Regions from separate parts of the Homo sapiens genome. Here all the other regions are linked to region 6. Evidence: promoter capture Hi-C in 16 types of primary human blood cells and fetal thymus (Javierre and others, 2016). All regions are on one chromosome and are shown on one strand. Each heading gives the region's core, a stretch centred on a gene start or on the middle of the fragment in contact. The rest is flanking DNA. Distances are from core to core; before and after follow the strand shown.

Evidence for each region. Contacts are between HindIII fragments. The CHiCAGO score rates a contact against its expected background, and 5 or more counts as called.
Region 1: a contact is called between a fragment that was not itself captured here and the fragment with the promoter of RNF25 in region 6, in 1 of 17 cell types (erythroblasts). The highest score is 6.1, in erythroblasts.
Region 2: a fragment that was not itself captured here is called in contact with the fragment with the promoter of RNF25 in region 6 in 7 of 17 cell types (fetal thymus, total B cells, naive CD8 T cells and 4 more); the score reaches 7.6 in fetal thymus.
Region 3: a fragment that was not itself captured here is called in contact with the fragment with the promoter of RNF25 in region 6 in 5 of 17 cell types (naive CD4 T cells, fetal thymus, total CD8 T cells and 2 more); the score reaches 7.4 in naive CD4 T cells.
Region 4: a contact is called between a fragment that was not itself captured here and the fragment with the promoter of RNF25 in region 6, in 2 of 17 cell types (fetal thymus and naive CD4 T cells). The highest score is 5.5, in fetal thymus.
Region 5: a contact is called between a fragment that was not itself captured here and the fragment with the promoter of RNF25 in region 6, in 3 of 17 cell types (fetal thymus, activated CD4 T cells and total B cells). The highest score is 6.3, in fetal thymus.
Region 7: a contact is called between the fragment with the promoter of CATIP here and the fragment with the promoter of RNF25 in region 6, in 10 of 17 cell types (naive CD8 T cells, non-activated CD4 T cells, naive B cells and 7 more). The highest score is 9.9, in naive CD8 T cells.

What each region holds. Positions count from the first base shown.
Region 1 is chr2:218,159,627-218,162,733 of GRCh38, forward strand. No RefSeq gene overlaps it. Among named protein-coding and RNA genes, the nearest start is that of CXCR1, 5.8 kb to the right of the region's middle. The HindIII fragment of the contact is 2,194 bases long and covers 704-2,897 here.
Region 2 is chr2:218,187,430-218,190,482 of GRCh38, forward strand. No RefSeq gene overlaps it. Among named protein-coding and RNA genes, the nearest start is that of CXCR1, 22 kb to the left of the region's middle. The HindIII fragment of the contact is 6,006 bases long and covers 1-3,053 here.
Region 3 is chr2:218,229,285-218,232,294 of GRCh38, forward strand. The region is part of intron 4 of ARPC2 (actin related protein 2/3 complex subunit 2); the gene reads left to right. Among named protein-coding and RNA genes, the nearest start is that of ARPC2, 14 kb to the left of the region's middle. The HindIII fragment of the contact is 1,516 bases long and covers 594-2,109 here.
Region 4 is chr2:218,384,280-218,387,129 of GRCh38, forward strand. It overlaps SLC11A1 (solute carrier family 11 member 1), which reads left to right. Exons shown (of 15, transcript NM_000578.4): 3 at 1-86; 4 at 868-987; 5 at 2,356-2,462. Among named protein-coding and RNA genes, the nearest start is that of SLC11A1, 3.4 kb to the left of the region's middle. The HindIII fragment of the contact is 3,664 bases long and covers 1-2,850 here.
Region 5 is chr2:219,172,641-219,175,516 of GRCh38, forward strand. It overlaps CNPPD1 (cyclin Pas1/PHO80 domain containing 1), which reads right to left. Exons shown (of 8, transcript NM_015680.6): 4 at 2,348-2,468; 5 at 2,138-2,266; 6 at 1,506-1,567; 7 at 710-827; 8 at 1-488. Among named protein-coding and RNA genes, the nearest start is that of CNPPD1, 2.8 kb to the right of the region's middle. The HindIII fragment of the contact is 3,353 bases long and covers 1-2,876 here.
Region 6 is chr2:218,670,491-218,673,666 of GRCh38, forward strand. It overlaps RNF25 (ring finger protein 25), which reads right to left and starts at 1,512. Exons shown (of 10, transcript NM_022453.3): 1 at 1,440-1,512. The coding sequence starts at 1,480. It overlaps STK36 (serine/threonine kinase 36), which reads left to right and starts at 1,596. Exons shown (of 27, transcript NM_015690.5): 1 at 1,596-1,725; 2 at 2,251-2,423; 3 at 3,135-3,176. The coding sequence starts at 2,340. RefSeq lists an enhancer at 1,417-1,516. The HindIII fragment of the contact is 1,597 bases long and covers 964-2,560 here.
Region 7 is chr2:218,355,425-218,358,414 of GRCh38, forward strand. It overlaps CATIP (ciliogenesis associated TTC17 interacting protein), which reads left to right and starts at 1,433. Exons shown (of 10, transcript NM_198559.2): 1 at 1,433-1,485; 2 at 1,671-1,763; 3 at 2,110-2,310; 4 at 2,613-2,668. The coding sequence starts at 1,461. CATIP-AS2 (CATIP antisense RNA 2) reads right to left here and starts at 2,542. Exons shown (of 4, transcript NR_125777.1): 1 at 2,490-2,542. RefSeq lists an enhancer at 1,328-1,839. The HindIII fragment of the contact is 20,732 bases long and covers 1,312-2,990 here.

The DNA of each region.
Region 1 (3,107 bases), core at 551-3,050, 510 kb before region 6:
CTCTCATCAATTCCAGGGAAAACAAAACTTGTACAAAAAAAATTGGATCCTACTGTGAATAATTTTTTACATAGTCATAATAACAAAAAAATTGAATGTCGACTTAACCAAAAAATGTGGCATCTGTTTCTGGAGAATGGAGAAGGCAGTATTTGTGTTTGCTTGGATTGGGGTGAAAGCAGGAGAGGGACTGGGAGAATATTACATTCTCAAAGCCAAAAGAGAGAGTCAGTGATGATAGCTAAACCTGGAGGGGGAGAAAAACAAGAACTAGCAGAGGGCTGGTCACAGTGGCTCACACTTGTAATCCCAGCACTTTGGGAGGCTGAGGTGGGGGGATCACTTGAGGTCAGGAGTTCAAGTGATGAACTGGCCTGGCCAACATGGTGAAACCCTGTCTCTACCAAAAAATGCAATAATTAGCCAGGCGTAATGGCGGGCACCTATAGTCCCAGCTACTCAGGAGGCTGAGGTGGGAGAATGACTTAAACCAGGGAGGCGGAGGTTGCAGTGAGCTGAGATCATGCCACTGCACTCCAGCCTGGGAGACTGAGTGAGACCAAAAAAAAGAAAAAAACTAGCAGAACAAGTATGATATTTAGAAATATATAGATCACTATCCGATGAAACAGCTATGAGAGCTGACAGCTGCTGCCCTTGTCTGCAGGGATTGGAGCTGGAAGGCTGCTGGTTTTTTGTTATAAGCTTCATAAAGCCATTTCGTTTTTTCAACAATGTGTATAAAATACTTAGACAATAGAAAGAAAATTTAATCTTAAAAAGTCGAGTTAACATATTTCGATTATTTTTTATTTATTATGTCTTTGATTCATTTCTACCCTGAAGGTTGGAAGGAAGACTTTGGATTTAAAAACTGAATACCAGGCTGCAAGAAAACATTGGTGCTGAGAGCTCCGCCGTTAGCTCCTTGTGGCTTTCTGGGTGGAACCTAGAGTGGCCTCTCTGACCTCTGCATGGAAACGGCAAAAGACAGGGCTCCACCACTGTCTCTTGGTGAGTGGTCTTCTCTAGGAAGGCACCTCTTTGGGACGATCCTTAGACCAAAGAGGAGATTGTCATGTTACTCATTTGCATCTATGAGATTTTTCAGTCTCTGAAAGACTCTTATTAAAATACTACTTTGCTGAGAAAGGGGCAAATTTTACCTCTATGGCATAAAATGTTGATTGTCAATTAGTATTTTTGCTGGAATTAACAAGAATGGGCCAGGGGATGGAGGGCAAGGGGTGGTGAGAGGCTGTGGTTGGTCAGAAGTGGAACTGGTTTAGGGGAAAACAGTAGATTTTCACATTTTGATTTAGAGTCTCAAACGTTGTCACCAAGGCTACAAAACAAACTTTAGGATTTTAACATCAGGAAGCATTGTGCAGAACATGCCGTTACATCCTAATCCCCGTCCCTCACCTTACCCTGATGTACATCCCCTCTGTAATCCCAATCTCATCACTGACCCCTCCCATTTCTGACCCCCACTCCTGTCCTAAGATTCACCCCATCCCTAGTGCCAGCCCCATCCTGGACAAGGGAGTCCCTCCTTAAGGCAAACACTCTCCCTGGCTCTGACTGGATCTAATCCTCACCCTATCTAGTAATTGAAATATCAGTTTTTGGTACTTCAATATGCTGTTAACTAAGTACCAAAATCCTGACATTTTTTAAAAATCTGAAATCCAAATCATTTGTGTCTTGAGCTATACCCAGAAAATTACAGGCTGCATTAGAATTTCCAATCAGCCTGGGTGCAGTGGCTCACACCTGTAATCCCAGCACTTTAGGAGGCCGAAGCAGGCAGATCACTTGAGCTCAGGGGTCCAAGACCAGCCTGGGCAACGTGGCAAGACTCCATATCTACAAAAAATTTTAAAAATTATCTGGGCATAATGGCGCACAGCTCTGGTCCCAGCTACTCTGGAAACTGAGGTTGGAGGATCACCTGAACTCAGAAGGTTGAGGCTGCAGTGAGCTGTGTATGCACCACTGCACTCCAGCCTGGGTGACAGAGCAAGACCCTGTCTCATTAAAAAAAAAAAAAAAATCCAATCGAAAAATGTTGCACTTGTTTGAAGAGTCCACTATATCCCTCCCCTGTTTAAAACACTTCTGAGTTATTTTGTTGCTGTTTGAGCCTCATTTAGTTCCTAGTGAGACTGAGCATTTTTCATGAGGTTATGAGTCATTTGCATTTCCCCTGGACCCAGTGTGGATCCCTATTTACTTACTGAAGCCTCTGATGGAGTTGTCCTTGCAGGAGCATAAGGTGAAGAAGGAGGAAGTTGGACTTTGAGGAAACAGTAGGAGAGGTGGAGGGAGATCAGCGGAGGGAGGAGAGGAAAAGGAGGCCCCAGTTCTCAGCCTTCTGCCCTAGATTCTCTGTGCATCCTTTGCATCCTTCTTGTCTTCTCTGCTGAATCAGGTCTATCTCTTAGGGCTCGAGTGCCTAACTCCCTCCTCACTCACCTGCCTGGAGAGTCTTAAGCAGGACAGACTGAGGAGCCTCTGTCTTTTGGCCCCGGAAGAGGATCTTAGATGATGCTCCAGATAGGATGGTGACCCTACCAGGCACGTCTTCTGCTCCAGCCTTATAGCTACTAAGCCTTCCCTGATATTCATTCCAGGCCTGACACCCCCTCCCTGAGCCTCACCACTCCCCCACACTTATCCCATTCCAAAGTCTCACTCTCCATATCTGGTCCCAGCTCCATGTTGAATCTCCCTGTTCCCAACACCTCACTGTGACCCTGACTCTCACTCTCCCTCCTTGTAGATCTCTACCGATTCCTGGCATTCATCCTTCTCTGACCTCATCCCAAGCTGCCACCCCATCCCTGCCCCCATCCCAGCTTTGATTTCAACATCAATCACTGATCCCCATCTGAAGCTTGATCTAGGTCCTGTCTCTGAGCCTCACCCTATTCCCAACCTCAAGCCTTCCCTGATCCTTCCCCACACAGGCTAAACCCACACTCTCAGTTTTGCTTAAGCTAGTTTGACTTCTCTTTCTATCATTTGCCATCAGAAGAGCCCTGACATCTTAAGTCCTCACTTGGGACATTTTTACACAGATAAACATCTAATGAAGCTAAACC
Region 2 (3,053 bases), core at 410-2,909, 480 kb before region 6:
CAGGCTTGCTTATTTTCTCTTACACGTGGCCAGCCGTACCAAGCTCTACCCGATATGGCCCAACCTGCATAGTCAACATTCTGTCTGATGGACTTGGCTGCCAAAGCGGTATCCATGGTTGCAGTAAAAATAAACCTCACAAATGGTGACCAGGGGGCTGGAGGGTGGAGGGGTTCTAGATGGAAACTGGGCAGATGGGAGACAGGTGGGAAGAAGACTCCTTGTGAATAGCTTTTAATTTTTTTTTTTTTGAAACATGTGACATAGTTCCCATTACATATTTTCAATGTTTAAAAAATAATTTTAAAATGTTAAACAGTCATAATTCAACCATGGTGGCAGGAGGTCTGTGGTGCAGCTGAGAAACTGCTCTAAGCTCTGGCATGTGCAGTTGTATGTCTTCTGGCTGCTCTGTCTCAATTTCCACCCACAGAGCCAAGGAAGCCTCCAGCCAATTCCAGGGAGCATCTTTCTGGGCCCTGGGTTTAGAGACCTGTGATTCTCTTTATTCCCTCTGCTCCAGATTCTCCAAATCAGCTCACTTTGGGCTCTCTTGGCCCTGTGTCTTTCCTGTCACTGGTTTGTCAACTGCCTCCACTCAGTGCCTCCCCTTAGCCCTTCCTGTCCTTACGGTTTCTAAATGCAATTCTAATAGCTTCACAAATGTGCTCCTCCACTTTCCTAGGCACCAAGGAAACCTTGACCCACAGGCTTTAATTTTACCCTTGCAGTGAATTCTTATTGACTTTCACTGACCACTGGAACCCACCTACTTGCCCTGAGAACACTCCCATTATCTTTCAATTAAAATAAGACCCTTGATTTATACTTTAATATACATATATCCAGGCTGGGCACAGTGGCTCACCCCTGTAATTCCAGCACTTTAGGAGGTCGAGGCAGGAGGATCGTTTAAGCCCAGGCATTCAAGACCAGCCTGGGCAACACAGTGGAACCTCATACCTCTACAAAGCAATTTTCAAAATTAGCCAGGTGTGGTGGAACACACCTGTGGTCCCAGCTACTCAGGAGGCTGAGGTGGGAGGATTGCTCAAGCCCAGGAGGTCAAGGATGCAATGAGCCATGATCACACCACTGCACTCCAGCCTGGGCAACAGACCAAAACCTTGTCTCAAAAAATAATTTTATATACATATATATACACACATGTATCCAGACTCCTGCTGAAACTACCTCTCCCTGTTCCAATGCCACACATCTAGTTCAGCCTGCAGATGAGTTTCTTTGACTGCCTGGGATTGGTTTCCTTGTTTGTTTAAATTAGAATTGGTTTCTGACTTTTAAACCTTGAGGCTTTTTCACATTTAAAAACATCTGGATTTATACACTCTCCTTTAAAATTTTGAAGATCTGGGCTGGGCGCCATGGCTCATGCCTGTAATCCCAGCTCTTTGGGAGGCCAAGGCGGGTGGATCACCTGAGGTCAGGAGTTCAAGAAGAGCCTGGCCAACATGGTGAAACCCTGTCTCCACTAAAAATATGAAAATTTGCTGGACATGGTGGCATGCACCTGTAATCCCAGCTACTCAGGAGGCTGAGGCGGGAGAATCACTTGAACCCGGGAGGTAGAGGTTGCAGTGAGCCGAGATCATACCATTGCACTCCAGCCTGGGAGACAAAAGCAAAACTCCATCTTAAAAAAAAAAAAAAAAAAAAAAAAAATTGAAGATTTGACAACACTGAGCTCATGGCAAAACTCAGCTAAACCTAGAATGTAAAAGAAATCCTAGAAATAGAGCCACACTTACACCATCACTTGATTTTCAACAGAAGTTCCAAAGCAATCCAGTGAGGGAAAGGAAGGTTTTATCAACAATGTGGGCCAGACACAGTGGCTCACGCCTGTAATCCACGCACTTTGGGAGGCCAAGGCAGGTGGATCACTTGAGGCCAGGAGTTTGAGACCAGCCTGGGCAGCCTGGCGAAACCCCATCTCTACAAAAAATGCAAAAATTAGCCAGGCGTGCTGATATGCACCTATAGTCCCAACTACTCAAGAGGCTGAGGTGGGAGAATTGTTTGAGCCTCGTAGGCAGAGGTTGCAGTGAGCTGAGACCCAGCCTGGGTGAAAGTGAGATTCTATCTGAAAAGAAAAAAAAGAAAGAAAAAGAAAAGAAATCTCATTACACAATCAAACATCACATCACCAGAATGACTAAAAATACAAAAGCATGATAATATCGACTATTAGTGGGTTGTAGTATAGCTGGAATCCTCACATATAATTAGTGGGAATGTAAAATGGTGCAAACACTTTGGTAAAAGGTCTGGCAGTTTCTTCTACTTTCTGACCCAGCAATCCCACTCCTAGGAATATGCCCAAGAGAAATGAAAATAATATGTTCACAAAAATATCAATAGCTTTATTGATAATTGCCAAAAACTAGAAACAGTCCAGGTGTCCATCAATAGGAGAATGGCTAAACATACAGTGGAATAGTCATACAATGGAGTCATTCTCATCAATAAAAAGGACTGAATTACTGATATACTCCACAACATGATGTATCTTAAAAACATTACACTGAGTAAAAGAAGCCTTCCACTTCTATGAAGTTCTAGAACAGGTGAAACTAATCTGAAAATAATCAGAGCAGAAGTTACCTCTGGGAGGATGGAGGCAGAGACAAACCAGCCATGGGGGGACATGAGAGGATTTTTAGGAATGATGGTAATGTTTTCTATATTGATGGGCATTGGGATTACACAGGGGCACCTATTAGTTGAAACTTAGTGAATATACACTTAAGATTTGTGCACTTCATTGTCTACAAATTTTACATCAAAAGAAAACACTAAAGGCCAGGTGCAGTGGCTCACGCCTGTAATCCTAGCACTTTAGGAGGCCAAGGTAGGAGGATCACTTGAGGTCAGGAGTTTGAGACCAGCCTGGCCAACATGGTGAAGCCCCGTCTCTACTAAAAATACAAAAATTAGCAGGGCATGGTGGCGCATGCCTGTAATCCCAGCTACTTGGGAGGCTGAGGCAGGAGAATCACTTGAATTTGGGAGGCGGAGGTTGCAGTGAGCCA
Region 3 (3,010 bases), core at 102-2,601, 440 kb before region 6:
CTTTAAATATCTCTTCTTTATAACTACCATAGGGGAAATAAGAAAGATGTCCAGACATTATGAAACTTCGGTGGCCATGCCTTGTTCACTGGCTTCTTTAAATAGTTAAGTAGCAGGTTTGGTTCCTGTTGAACTGTATTTGCTCTGAGGAGAGCCATTTATGGAAGAAAGAAAATGCTATTACACCAGTTTGTGCACGCTGTGGTTGGGTCTCAAAGCAGGAAATATGACTCAGTTCCTGAATCAGTTTTCAAATTTCTTAGTTTTAACAAACTAGGTTCTCCTTAATCTGTTAAATGAAGATATAACCATAGCTGTTTCTTTCTGAAAAGTAGTAGCTTTTGAATTATTTAAAACTTATATAATAAAAGATGATTTGTAAAGGAATATGGTCAAAAGCTTGTTTAATTTTTTAGCATAAAAACTAAAATTAGTCTTAATACCAAGAGCCATTGGTTGCTTCCCTTAGTTATTCAAATGCAATTGATTTTCTCATAAGTTCAAAGAAAGAAGAAATATTTAGAGGATTTGGAATCCAGATTAGTTTACTGGAAAAAGAAAAGCTTCAGAAAGAAGACCTAGTGCTTTTATAAAGCTTATGAAGAATTGTTTTGTAAAAGATAGTGGCTGACACTTCTTTACCAGATAAAGAGTGAAAGAAAACAAATGGCTATTAAAGCAGCCCTGCCTCTTTTTTTTTTTTGAGGTGGAGTCTCACTCTGTTGCCCCAGGCTGTACTGCAGTGGCGCCAGCTCAGCTCACTGCAACCTCCAACTCCTGGGTTCAAGCAGTTCATCTGCCTCAGCCTCCTGAGTAGCTGGGATTACAGGCATGCACCGCTACACCTGGCTAATTTTTTGTACTTTTCATAGAGATGGCGTTTCACCACATTGGCCAGGCTGCTCTCAAACTTCTGACCTCAGGTGATCTGCCTGCCTCGACCTCCCACAGTGCTAAGATTGCAGGTGTGAGCCACCGTGCCCAGCCTTTTCTTTTTTTTTTCTTTTTTTTTTTTTTTTTTTTTTTTGACAAGGTCTTGTTCTGTCACCTAGGCTGGAGTGCAGTGGCACAATCACAGCCACTGCACCCCTCAACCTCCCAGGCTCAAGCAGTCCTCTCACCTCAGCCTCCTGAGTGTCTGGGACTACAGGCACGTGCCACCACACCTGGCTTATTTTTTGTTTGTTTGTTCTTTAGAGAGAGGAGGTTTCACTATGTTGCCCAGGCTAGTTTCAAACTCCTGGGCTCAAGCAGTCCTCCTTCCTGGGCCTCCCAAAGTGCTGGGATTATAGATGTGAGCCACCATGTCCAGCTGCATCGCTGCTTTGGATCAGCTATAACTACCTGAAAAGAAGTGTTAAAATATTTGAATAGACTTTTTTTAAATTGTGTAATCATTCTCCCCTAGACAGTCTTCACTAGGTGCAAGCCTGCACAGTGGCACACACCTGTAGTGCCAACTGTGTGTTGGGACTTCACACAGTTGGCTTGAGGGGTTCAAGTGGGGAGAGTTGCTGGAGCCCAGGAGTTCAAGTCCAGCCTGGACGACATAGTGAGATTCCACCTCAAAAAAAGGAAAAGATCTAAATGCAATAATAATAATCCTGGAAAGAAAGAGTTAAGCTAGATTTCTTAAATCTCCTTTCCATTCTGTGCTTTTCTTACGATGGAGCTCCAGAACACATTGCTATTCTTGTAGCTACCACAAGGGTCAAAGAACCAGCCCCACCCACTCAAGTGGGTGGAGTAAGTAACATTCATAGTGTTGGAGCAGAGTGCACAGTAAATGGCTCCCTGGGTTGGTTAAACAGTGACCAACCCATGATAACCACAGGAAGGTTATTACTTTGTCACAGGCCATTTTTAAAGGTGGAATGCCTCTGCTGCTAGAGTGGGAAGGTAATGGTGATGAGTGATAGGTTGCCTCCACCCATCTCCTGGTGTCATTGGGAGAGGGGGTACAAACTGAAAAGTGAATCATGGTTAAAAGTGCAAGTGAAGTGACAAGGAAGTGTTGGCTGGTTTTACCAAGGGGAGGGAGCAAAGCAGTTGAACATGATATAAATTTGGCTCTCAGTACCTCTTAGATCTCAGAATATTAACTTAGTAAGCTTGAAATTAAACTAAATCTTAGGGACTTAGGGATTTAAACTAAATCCCCACCACATCTGATTTCCCCTTCCTCGAAATACCAATAGTACGTGCAACACAGACTTGTAGCTCAGAGGTCGCATGCTGTTTCAAATTCTTGGGATATGCATGTTACTTTTTTTTAAAGAAGTGGTATATCAGACACCTGAAGGTCAAGTCTCTCTGTGCCACCAAGAAACTCTCGTGACCTTGAGCCCCTCCTCTCAATTCCTCTTCGGTAAAAGAAATACCTCACAGTGGCTGTGCAATCACCAAATAGGAACTACAGGTGGCATTATTTATCTTTTGCCCTTGTGTAAGAAAATGTAGTCTTGCAGGTTGAAAATTTCTTCCAGCTATAGGAAAATGGTTAAATAAATATGTGGAATATTAGGAAATTATTGTTCAGCCAGGCGTGGGGGCTCATTCCTGTAATCCCAGCACTTTTGGAGGCCAAGGCAGGAGCATCGCTTGAGGTCAAGAGTTCAAGCCCAGCCTGGGCAACGTAGTGAGACCCTGTCTTTGTATATAAATAAATAAGTAGGCCAGGCGCAGTGGCTCACGCCTGTAATCCCAGCACTTTGGGAGGCCAAGACAGGTGGATTGCTTGAGGTCAGGATTTCGAGCCCAGCCTGGGCAACATGGTGAAACCCCATCTCTACTAAAAAATATAAAAATTAGCTTGGTGTGGTGGTGGACACCTGTAATCCCAGCTACTAGGGAGGCTGAGGCAGGAGAATTGCTTGAACCCAGGAGGTGGAGGTTGCAATGAGCCGAGATCACGCCACTGCACTCCAGCCTGGGTGACAGAGTGAGACTCCGTCTCAAAAAAAAAGAATTAATTAAATTAAAATAAAATGTTTGTTTCTTAAGCCATGTC
Region 4 (2,850 bases), core at 220-2,719, 290 kb before region 6:
GGCCTGGCTTCCTCATGAGCATTGCTTTCCTGGACCCAGGAAACATCGAGTCAGATCTTCAGGCTGGCGCCGTGGCGGGATTCAAAGTAACTAAGTCGGGACCTGAGTGGGGACACTTTCGAGAGGGAGGTGACCAGGCTAAGTGTTGAAGGCCCCTGCTGGCCATGTTTCTCCAATGTGGCCTGGGAGCTGGTGTTAAGTTCAAATGGGCCCGAAAAGGGTCCCCAGGGCAGCCCTGCCAGAAGGTGGGGCATTTGTGTGGGGGGTAGGGGACTGGACTCCTCTCTTTAAAATATATATATGTATATTTATTTATTTATTTATTTAATTTTATTTTTTGAGACTCAGTCTCACTCGGTCACCCAGGCTGGAGTGCAGTGGCACAATCTCGGCTCACTGCAACCTCTGCCTCCCGGGTTCAAGTGATTCTCCTGCCTCAGCCTCCTGAGTAGTGCATGCCACCACGCCTGGCTAATTTTTGTATTTTTAGTAGAGATGGGGTTTCACTGTGTGGGCCAGGCTGGTCTTGAACTCCTGACCTCAAGTGATCCACCGCCTCGGCCTCCCAAAGTGCTGGGATAACAGGTGTGAGCCACCTTGCCTGGCGTAATTTATTTATTTATTTAGAGATGGGGGTCTCACTATGTTGCTCAGGCTGCTCTTGAACTCCTGGACTCAAGCAATCCTCCCACCTTAGCCTTTTAAAGTGCTGGGATTACAGGGTGAGCTACCAGCGCCCAGCCAGGATGGGACTCCATCTCTCCCACCCCCTCCCCGAGGAGTATGCTTGGTTAGAGGGTACCACGAGCTCAGGGGCTTTCTGAGGCTGGCCTCTCTGGCTGAAGGCCTCTCCCTGCCTCCTCACAGCTTCTCTGGGTGCTGCTCTGGGCCACCGTGTTGGGCTTGCTCTGCCAGCGACTGGCTGCACGTCTGGGCGTGGTGACAGGCAAGGACTTGGGCGAGGTCTGCCATCTCTACTACCCTAAGGTGAGCTTGGGGGGCCTGGACAGGGAGAACCACTGGCCCCAAACCCCAAACAGCCATTTTCAGCTTCCACGATCAAATAAATACATCATCTCACATGGGGCATCCCAAGTCTGTTTGTTTTTGTTGTTGTTTGTTTGTTTTTCAGTCGGAGTCTCGCTCCGTCGCCCAGTCAGGAGTGCAATGGTGCGATGTCAGCTCACTGCAACCTCTACCTCCCAGGTACAAGTGATTCTCCTGACTCAGCCTCTCAAGTAGCTGGGATTACAGGCGCCCACCACCATCATCGGCTAATTTTTGTATTTTTAGTAGAGCTGGGGTTTCACCATGTTGGCCAGGCTGGTCTCAAACTCCTGACCTCAGATGATCCACCCACCTCAGTCTCCCAAAGTGCTGGGATTACAGGCATGAGCCACTGCATCCGGCCCCAATTCCATTTGATAGATGGAAAGACTGAGGCTCAAACTGATAGCACATAGCCTAGAGGGACATGAGAGGCATGTCATTTCACAGAAGGGGTAATTAAAATTTGGGAAAGAGACTTGCCCAAGACAAAAAATGGGGAGGCATCAGCTCAGGAATGGTCACTGGTTGGGGTGGACCCTGGGGACTTCGTTGTTGTGAGTGTCCAGTTTGGAAAACAGAAATTACAGCACTGGACATTTCAAAGGTATTGAATGCAGGGATTGAAAGGTTTGGGAGGGCTTGAGGGGCAAGGGAAGAGGGTGTTACAAAAAGATCAGAAAGCTGCTACACCTCTGGCACAAGCCCCAGAGCCATCCTTTGCTGCTGAGCTCCTGGAAGCATTATTGATGCTGATGAAATGGCCACTAGTGCTGCCAGAGTCCGGGTTGCCTGGTGCCACTGCCAGAAATACAAGAAGCAGGGGGAGAAAATGGTTTATCTCAGCCTGGGGCGGTGGCTCACGCCTGTAATCCCAGCACTTTGGGAGGCCAAGGCGGGTGGATCACCTGAGGTCGGGAGTTCGAGACCAGCCTGACCAACATGGAGAAACCCCGTCTCTACTAAAAATACAAAACTAGCCGGGCATGGTGGCACATGCCTGTAATCCCAGCTACTCGGGAGGCTGAGGCAGGAGAATCGCTTGAACACGGGAGGCGGAGATTGTGGTGAGCCGAGATCATGCCATTGCACTCCAGCCTGGGCAACAAGAGCAAAACTCTATTTCGAAAAAAAAAAAAAAAGTTTATCTCTGCCTTTCCATCTCCTGTATGCTCTTCCTACATAAGGTAGGAAGCCCATTGGCCAGACTGTCTAGTAAATGTAGTCTGAGACGACAGACAAATGTAGTCTGAGACGACAGGCAAATAACCGGCCCACCCTTAATGAAGGATCATCTCCTCCCCATAGGTGCCCCGCACCGTCCTCTGGCTGACCATCGAGCTAGCCATTGTGGGCTCCGACATGCAGGAAGTCATCGGCACGGCCATTGCATTCAATCTGCTCTCAGCTGGACGGTACCACCCCAGTGTACCCCAACTCTTCAGGCCAGGCAGAGAACAGCTGCTGCTACTTCCCCCCCTAACCAGTCCCTCCCAGAGTCTATTTTATCCTGCTGTCCCCTCTGAAGCAGGGCTGCTGCCCTGTTTTCCAGAAATGTAAAGTGACTTGTCTAAAGTCACACAGATGTGAGTCATGCAGGACTTTGGGACTGCAGCCCCAAACTCCCTGCTGCGCCGGGTGCCAGGTCTCTCCTCTAGCTCTGCCCTGCCTCGACTGTTCTATGCCACACTCCCACTCCCCTTGCCCTAGCTGTCTGGGGGCGCTTAGGGTCCTGCTCCCAGGAGGCCAGATTCCTGTCTCCAGCCCTGAGGCTCCGTAGGAGTTAGAGACCCCTGGACCAGG
Region 5 (2,876 bases), core at 308-2,807, 500 kb after region 6:
GAACATTGCTGAGGCTGAGGAAGTGAAAGGAGCACCGGGCTCCAAGGCCAGGGGGGAGCCAGGCCATAGGTATGGTACCAGGGGCTGGACAGCGCAGTGGGGACTGTACGGTTGGGGTGGAGGCAGGCATGGCAGGTTGGGGAGTCTCTCTGGAGCTTCTGGCAAAGGTGGCAGTTATGAAGAAGAGTGGGAGGGGCAGGGGGGTCTGGGGGAGGCAATGGTGGAGGAGTCAGTGAGGCCAGAAGACTGCCCCAGAGTGACCGCAGCCCCATGCTGCCTTCCAGGCAGCTGGAGACATTAGCGAGAGACGGCAGGCATTGTGGCACAGAAGGTATGCAGGGCTCCAGGAGGCAACGGGAGGTCAGTCCAAGGTCAGGCGGCCCAGGTGTAGGGATGCAGGACAGCCCCAAAGACTGATGTATTACGGCCACCGATGCCACAGCCAGGGCCACACTGCTCACATATGCCACAGCTAACAGGCAAGACAGCTGCAGGAGAGGAGATAAGAAAGAAGGAATCTGTCTTTAACACATTCACCCCTTGTCTCTAGAAATCTGTGTTCCAGTTGGAGGTCTCTATAGCCATTTACACCCCACTCTGCCCATCTATTCCCAACCCCATCTCCTGGGCTTTTCAGCAATCACTTCACACCATCCCACCCTACACACCGGCCTGCTCAAGCTCCCTATCCTTCCGAGCCCCTCCTCACCTTTACCAGCCGCTGGCAGAGGGAGCCCAGGGCCAACTGCCAGGTCGGCTGCTCCAGCAGCACACACAGGTCTGTGTAGGTGTACCAGCCTCGCCACCGTCCCTGCTGCTCAGCCACACTGGGGGAAGTGGAGAAATGACAAGAGTATGCAACTGTCCTGCAGCCAGCCCAGTGGCACCCTCATACCACTCAGGACCCACCAGGAAACACTGGGAAGCCTGTTAAACCCAGATTCCTAGGCTATCTGCTGATCTAGAAACTAAGGGTGAGACCAAGACCTATATTTTATTTATTTTTATTTATTTATTTTGTTAAGACAGGATCTTGCTGTCTCCCAGGCTGGAGTGCAGTAGTGCAATCATAGCTCACTGCAGACTCAACATCCTGGACTCAAATGATCCTCTTGTCTCAGCCTCCTGAGTAGCTGGGATTATGGGTGTACACCACTGCATCTGGCTAGTATTTTTTTCTGGTAGGGTCAGGCATCTTGCTATATTGCCCAGGCTGGTCTCGAACTCCTGGACCCAAGTAATCCTCCAGCCTCACCCTCCCAGAGTGCTAGGATTATAGACATAACTACCATACCCACCCAATACATGTATTTTAAATAAGCTGCTTCTCACCTTCCCAAAGGTGATGAAGAAGAGGACAGATGGGTCTGGGAACCACTATCTGGGCAATTCTCTTTCTTGTCTCCTCCCTCCCCCAGTTACACAGACTCTCATCTCTAGCTCCTATGGCTGAGGACTCAGCCCCCAAATCCCTCGAGCCCTTCTTCCCAACTCCTAGAACCTACCAGCTCTCCAACCAGCTCAGCACCTCAAAGATCTCCCGAGGGTCAGTGTAGAGATGCCAATCCTGTGAGTACGGAGAGTGGACATCAAACCAGACTTGGATGAGCCACAGTCATTTAATAATAAGAGCCATAGCAGCAACTACAACCGCCCCTATGGCTAATGCATATTTGGCACTTACCATGTGCCAGATACTGTCTCAAAAGTTTTTACACATTAACTCATTGAATCACCACCTGCCTGGTTTCACATTATACTCTCCACTAAGCAAGAGGGGAGAAAATGACCCTGAGAATGGTCTGTGTCCACAGGGAGCTAAACATCTAGGGGCAGAGAAAGTATGGACACAAATATTCAGAACCCAATAGGATAAACTCTGACTCAGAGTGTACCCTGTGGGGCCCTGGAGGAATAGAGGAGGCGAGGAAATGTTCTGCTCTTGGCCTTACTGCTCTACGAATCTCCAAAAACTGGTTAGTACTGAAGAGATAGGAAAGGAAGACACTAACACAAAGGCAGGAGGAGGACAGGAAGAGAAATGACGAACCAACAGAAGACTGAGAGAGAACAAAGGACTAAAGGACGGTTAAAGATGGGCCAGGGAAACTGAGCAAGAGAGAGAACAGCTGCTCACCATGGCACTCAGGAAGCCCCTCTCCAAGGCATTGAGAGTGGGCACGGCCACACCCCCAGCAGCTCCCCATTCGTCGTTGAAGACCTCCTCCTCCTCCCCTTCATCATAGAGGTACTTACTGGCCACCATCTGCAGAGGAACCAGAAGTGGTGGAGCAGAGCTCATAGCAGGCTCTTGGCTCTTTAGGGAGATGGGGAGGGGGTGTCTTACCATGGAGATCAGGAACAAGTCAGAGGATGACACATGCTGCAAGTAGTCTGGGTTTCGGTGCCGGAGCCGTTCAATGTACACCAGAGCCAGCATCATAGCACATGGGGAGATGCATGCCTCCCTGGGTGGTAGAAAGGATCACTAATTAAACCCAAGGGTCCTTCAGCTCTTGCAAGTCTTATGATGCTCGTTCCTGTCTTTACCTCTTATCTTTGGAAAAAAACTATTCCTGGCTGGGCACGGTGGCTCATGTCTGTAATCCCAGCACTTTGGAAGACCAAGGTGGGTGGACTGACACCAGGAGTTTGACACCAGCCTGGCCAACATGGTGAAACCCCGTCTTTACTAAAAATACAAAAATTAGCCAGGGGCGGTGGTGTGTGCCTGTAGTCCCAGCTACTGGGGAGGCTGAGGCACAAGAATCACTGGAACCCAGGAGGCGGAGGTTGCGGTGAGCCGAGATTGTGCCACTGCACTCCAGCCTGGGTGACAAAGTGAGACTGTCTCAAAAAAAAAAAAAAGAAAGAAA
Region 6 (3,176 bases), core at 262-2,761:
AGAGACCATCCTGGCTAACAGGGTGAAACCCCGTCTCTACTAAAAATCACAAAAAATTAGCTGGGTGTGGTGGCGGGCGCCTGTAGTCCCAGCTACTCGGGAGGCTGAGGCAGGAGAATGGCATGAACCCGGGAGGCGGAGCTTGCAGTGAACCGAGATTGCGCCACTGCACTCCAGCCTGGGCGACAGAGCAAGACTCCGTCTCAAAAAAAAAAAAAAAAAAAAAAAAAATTGGGGGAGTGGGGACTGAAGAATGTCCTAGTACAAAGAATCTAAGGTGTGGAGTCAGACAGATATGGATTTCTATTCATAATTTTCTATCTTTTGGCAAATCACTTTACTTCTTTGGGACTCATCTAGTCTTCCCAGGTGCCTGCACCTCAGTTATTAATGAAAAGGAGGCCGGGTGTGGTGGCTCACGCCTGTAATTCCAGCACCTTGGGAGGCTGAGGTGGGAGGATCACTTGAACCCAGGGGTTCAAGACCAGTCTGGCCAACATGGCAAAACTCCGTCTCTACAAAAAATACAAAAATTAGCCAGGCATGGTGGCACACACCTGTAGTCTCAGCTACTCGGAAGGCTGAGGCAGAAGGATCACCTGAGCCTGGGGAGGTCGAGGCTGCAGTGAGCCGTAATCGCACCACCGCACTCCAGCGTGGGCGAGAGTGAGACTCTGTCTCAAAAAACAAAACAAAACAAAACAAAAAACAGACTTAAGTATATTACAAATCCGTCGTGATCCTCTCAACTATTCTGAGGTAAATGCCACACCCACTTTTTTTTTTTACAGCTGAGGACACTGACTCACAGAAGCTAGATGGCCTGTTCAGCATCACACAGCTAATAAAATGTGGAGTTAACCCACATTGATCCTACTTCCAAATCCCAGAGTCCTTCCATGTTCTAGTCTTTGGTTAAGAATGCTTGAGAGAAGGACTAGAGGGACTTTATATGAAGTGTAAAGCTTTATTCATACAATAGTCCTCACTAGTGCTGTGTGAGAGAGAGAAGGCTGAGGAAAGCGTCGGCGGAAAAAGGCTGATCCAAGGGGAAAGGGGGCCGGAACTGGAGGGCACTGGTTCTGAGAGGAGAAAGGGAGATGGGGAGGTCTGATGGGCAGGCATCCCCCAAAGCCCCTGAGAAAATTCATTTGAGGAGGAGAGAAAGGGATGGCGTGAAGCTGGAGGAAAAGGGATCGAACCGGATGCGGCGAGGCCTGAACTGGCCTGGCGGGCGCCGACCCGTTCTCCTCTCACTCAGATCAGCGCCCCTCCACCCTCCCGTTCCCCAGTCCAGCTTTCCCAGAGATGTCAGCATCTCTGCCATCCCTCATCCCTCGCTCCACCCCACACGCCCGCCGTACGGACCGTCTGCGACAGCTGCTAGGCCTCTGGACTAGATCCAGGCTGTCAGCCAAAGCCCATGCCCCCAAAGTTACCAGTCCTCCTCCCCTGCAGCTGCAGACGCAGACGCCGCCATATCTTCACCGGCCCGCAGCCGGAACCGGAAATGCCCTTAGGGAAGTCGGAGGCGGAAAACTAAGAGGGGTGGGCAGCTAGCGTCGTTTCTAGGCAACCGCAGACTCCGGGTCCTTAGCCGGGCCTGATGGCCCTGAGGCAGTTCGGATGTGTCCCAGGAAGTGCCCATGTGTGGTCCGCCGTCCATTCCACACCTCTGAGCGCCTTTGTCCTCTGAACTTCTCACCAGTTCTAGCGAGTAAAATTGTAAGAAAGGGAGCCGAAAGAGACCGGAGGGAGAGGCGGGTGGAGAAGAATTATAAGTCAGGCAACGTATGCAGGCAGCCAGAAGAGATGGGGCTAAACGCCAGGGAATCCGTCCCTTGGCCTGAGGAGCTTGGAGCTCCTAGGCTGGGGGTGAGAGAGGGGCTCTGGCCTGCGAAGCGCACGGGCCAGGGGGTCTGAGAGCGGGTGCTGAGGAGTCTGGGAGTGGCAGGAACTTGGGGGAGACTCAAAGGAGCAGGGTTGGTTGGGCGAGGCTAGGTTGAAAGAGTAGGGTCGAGTGAGCCAGGCTGGGTGAGGGAGAAGGGGAACCAGGTGTTAGTTGGGCATGGGGCCGGGTTGGGGACAGGAGGATGAAAGTGGGGAGGAACTACAAAGAGAAGCTCTGTTTGTTCCAAGAGCGCATCATCTTTGCATGCATTCCACCCTCCCATGTTTTTTGAGGCTTTATTGTGAAAAAGAGGAAAAGGCAAGGTGGCTAACATTTTTCCTTTCCCGTGCCCCAACTAGGCGTCCCAGATGTTGTGGAACTGTCCCTGGATCTATAGCTCTTCACCGTCTCTACTTTCTTCCTTCTAAGAGATCCTGAAACCTCTGTCATGGAAAAGTACCACGTGTTGGAGATGATTGGAGAAGGCTCTTTTGGGAGGGTGTACAAGGGTCGAAGAAAATACAGTGCTCAGGTGTTGCACAAAGAGGGATACCTTTTGGGTGGGATTTGGTACCCCCAACTCCAGTGGAAAATGGATCTAGAAGGAATGTATTTATACCAGTTTGTATTCCTAAGGTACTGACTCCCTCATACTTCTTATGGAGTATAAGCTTTGAAGTTGGATTATTTGGGTGCAAATTCCATCTCCACCGCTTTCTAGCCCTAGAATTATGGACAAATTACTTAACTTCCCTATGTCTCAATTTCCTTATCTCTAGAATGGGGATAAGAACAGCAACTGATTGATGGAGTTTGAGGATTAAATATGTTTTCACATTAAATCACTTAGTACAGTGCCTGGCTGTTAGTAAACAACAAATATTATTAGTCTCTAGCACACCATGTAATAAGAGGTAAACCACTTGAACTCTATTATTTCCTCTTCATTTTTTTTTTCCTTTCCTTTCTCCTAAATCTCATCTTGAGTGCTGGTCAAATCAGAACACTTCTTCCAGAAGGGGAAATGTTTTGCAGATGCTGTTTCCTCCTGGGATGAGGAATGGGGAAAGCCTGGATAAGGCCAGGGTACCATGGAGAAAATGGAAGCGGGAGACTAACAGAAATAATAAGAGTTACTCAAACACTCTAAAATCTGACTTCTGGAGCTCTGAGATTAAGGCTGAAATTCTAGATCTTTTCAGTAGTGTGATTAGGCGTTAACTTTTCACCTTACCACTGACAGGTCGTGGCCCTGAAGTTCATCCCAAAATTGGGGCGCTCAGAG
Region 7 (2,990 bases), core at 183-2,682, 320 kb before region 6:
CTCCCGGGCCCAGCTGTTTTCTCTTTGTCTCTTTGTCTTGTGTCTTTATTTATTACAATCTCTCGTCTCCACACACAGGGAGAACACCCGCTAAGCCCCGTAGGGCTGGACTCTACAGGTGGATCACTTGAGCTCAGGAGTTCAAGACCAGCCTGGCCAACATGGTGAAACCCCATCTCTACTAAAAATACAAAAATTAGCCAGGTGTGGTGGCGGGTGCCTGTAGTCCCAGCTACTTGGGAGACTGAGGCAGGAGAATCACTTGAACCTGGCAGGAGGAGGTTGCAGCTGAGATCATGCCACTGCATTCTAGCCTGGGTGACAGAGTGAGACTCTTTCTCAAAAATAATTAAAACAAACAAATAAATAAATAAAAATAATAAAAATAAAAATACAAAAATTAGCTGGGCATGGTGGCACACTCCTGTAGTTCCAGCTACTCAGGAGGCTGAGGTAGGAGAATCACTTGAACCCAGGAGGCAGAGGTTGCAGTGAGCCAAGATGGCGCCACTGCACTCCAGACTGGCAACAGAGTGAGACTCTCTAAAAAAAAAAAAAAAAGCGCCTCACCAGGAATAAGTCCAGTCAAAGAGTTTGCTATGTTGTCATTGTTGTTATCATTATTGTTACATGTATTAGAACTGTAACTTGCAGAGATATTCATGTAGCAGCTAATTGGATAGTGTGCATTTGAGACTCTGTCTGACTTTCGTTCATATCTTCTAAGGTCATTTTTTTTTTTTTGAGACAGATTACAGGCATGTGCCACCACTCCCTGGTAATTTTTGTATTTTTAGTAGAGATGGGTTTCACCATGTTGGCCAGGCTGGATCTCAAACTCCTGGCCTCAAGTGATCCACCTGCCTGGGACTCCCAAAGTGCTGGGATTACAGGTGTGAGCCACCACACCTGGCCTCTTCTAAGGTCATTCTAATGACCCATTTCTTCACTCTGCCTCTTAAGAATATCAAATGTGGGCCAGGCGCGGTGGCTCACACCTGTAATCCCAGCACTCTGGGAGGCTGAGGCAGGAGGATCACGAGCTCAGGAATTCAAGACCAGCCTGGCCAATATGGTGAAACCCCATCTCTACTAAAAATACAAAAATTAGCTGGGCGCGGTGGTGTGCGCCTGTAGTCCCAGCTACTCGGGAGGCTGAGACCTCAAGAAGAATTGCTTGAACCCGGGAGGCAGAGGTTGCAGTGAGATGAGAATGCGCCACTGCACTCCAGCCTGGGTGACAGAGCGAGATTGCGTCTCAAAAAAGAAAAAAATATATATCAAATGCTCCCTCTGCTGGACAACACCTCAAGCTTGTGCTGAGCCCCAAACCTGCAGTGTCAGTTCCCTCCAAGGTCTGGGTGTAGTAAAGTGGGTTGATGGCCCTTTAAGAGGCACTGTCCAGCTCTGGTTGCCATGGAGACAGCTGGACACAGACCGGGTAGAGGCAGGCCCACAGCATGTCCTCCAAGGTTTACTCCACAGGTGGGAAGAGGACTGCTGGGGCTGGAGGCGGGGATCCTCTTCTTTCTTCCCAATCCACCCTCGGGGTAGTCTTAGAGGATTCTGTTCTTGGGTGCTGGGGCCAGGACTGAGGTACCCTGCCTTGCCTCCCTGACCCCTGCCCTTCTCCCCAGGGTCTGCCATCTTAGCCTCTCATCCCTCTGTAGGCTCCAGAGCTAAGGACCACCAGCCCTCGGGTCCGGAGTGTCTGCCACTCCCAGAGGCCAATGCTGAAGCCATCGACTTCCTCAGCTCCCTCCGTGAGCTCAGACAGTGTCGGGGTTGGGGGTGCGGGAGGGGTGCAAGTCTGGAGAGGAGGGAAGAAAGTCCAGTCTCTCTCTCTCTCTCTCTCTCTCTCTCTCTTCCTTGATTCTCCTGGGACTCAGAAAAGGCCTGAGGCCTGTTTGTTGACATTCTTCAAGGGAAGGCCCCCCGGGGACATGGGGACATGGGGCAGGAGTCTTCACCTGTCCGTGCCAGTGAGGAAGGCTGTGGGATGAGGAGGCAGGTGGGGACTGTGGGGACACTGGTGGTCATGGGGTCAGAGGATTGGATTGGGGCCCAGGAGCAGGGGCTTTATCTGTTCCCACGGGCCCCTCACCCCAGACAAGGAGGAGCTACAGATGCTGTTCTTCTCTGAGACGCTGGCCATGGTCTCAGACACCGGGGAGCCTCAGGGAGAGCTGACCATTGAGGTGCAGAGAGGGAAATACCAGGAAAAACTCGGCATGCTGACATACTGCCTCTTCGTGCATGCCTCTAGCCGAGGCTTCTTGGACAAAATGCTCTGCGGAAATTCCCTCCTGGGTAGCGTTCCTACTGCCTGATGCCCGTCACTCTCCCCTTCCTCCAACCCTCCCCTCCACCAATTCCTAGAATCTTTTTTCAGGACCAAGCCCTTGGCTTTGCCTTGGACCAGGACAAGGCACGGGGTGGGAGAGGGATGAGCGAGTTCCTCATGGACTCGGGATGAGGGCACATCTTACCCATCCTGTAGTTTTTCTGGGACCGTATTACACCTAGTCCTCCAGCTGCGCCACCACCTTCCCTTCCTTCAGCCTCTGACCCACATCTCCTGTGACGTCAATGCCTGTGTCCCTGCACCCCAGGCTATCTCTCAGAGAAGCTGGAGCTCATGGAACAGCACAGCCAAGACTTCATCAAGGTACTTCCCAGGGCCCCAGCCTTGACCCAATCCAGGGGAGAGAAGACAGATTTTGACTTAAAAAACAGCAGCAACAACAAACCAAAAAACCTATTACATACACAGTGAAGCTGAAGAATAGCAATCGTGTTATGATGCAATGTAAAGCTCAAAAGCAACGCACTTCAGAAAACTGATTTTAAAACACGGGGGTGGGCTGGGCACAGTGGTTCACACCTGTAATCCCAGCACTTTGGGAGGCAGAGGTGGGCGGATCACCCTGAGGTCAGGAGTTCGAGACCAGCCTGGCCAACATAGCGAAACCTCATCTGTACAAAAATTA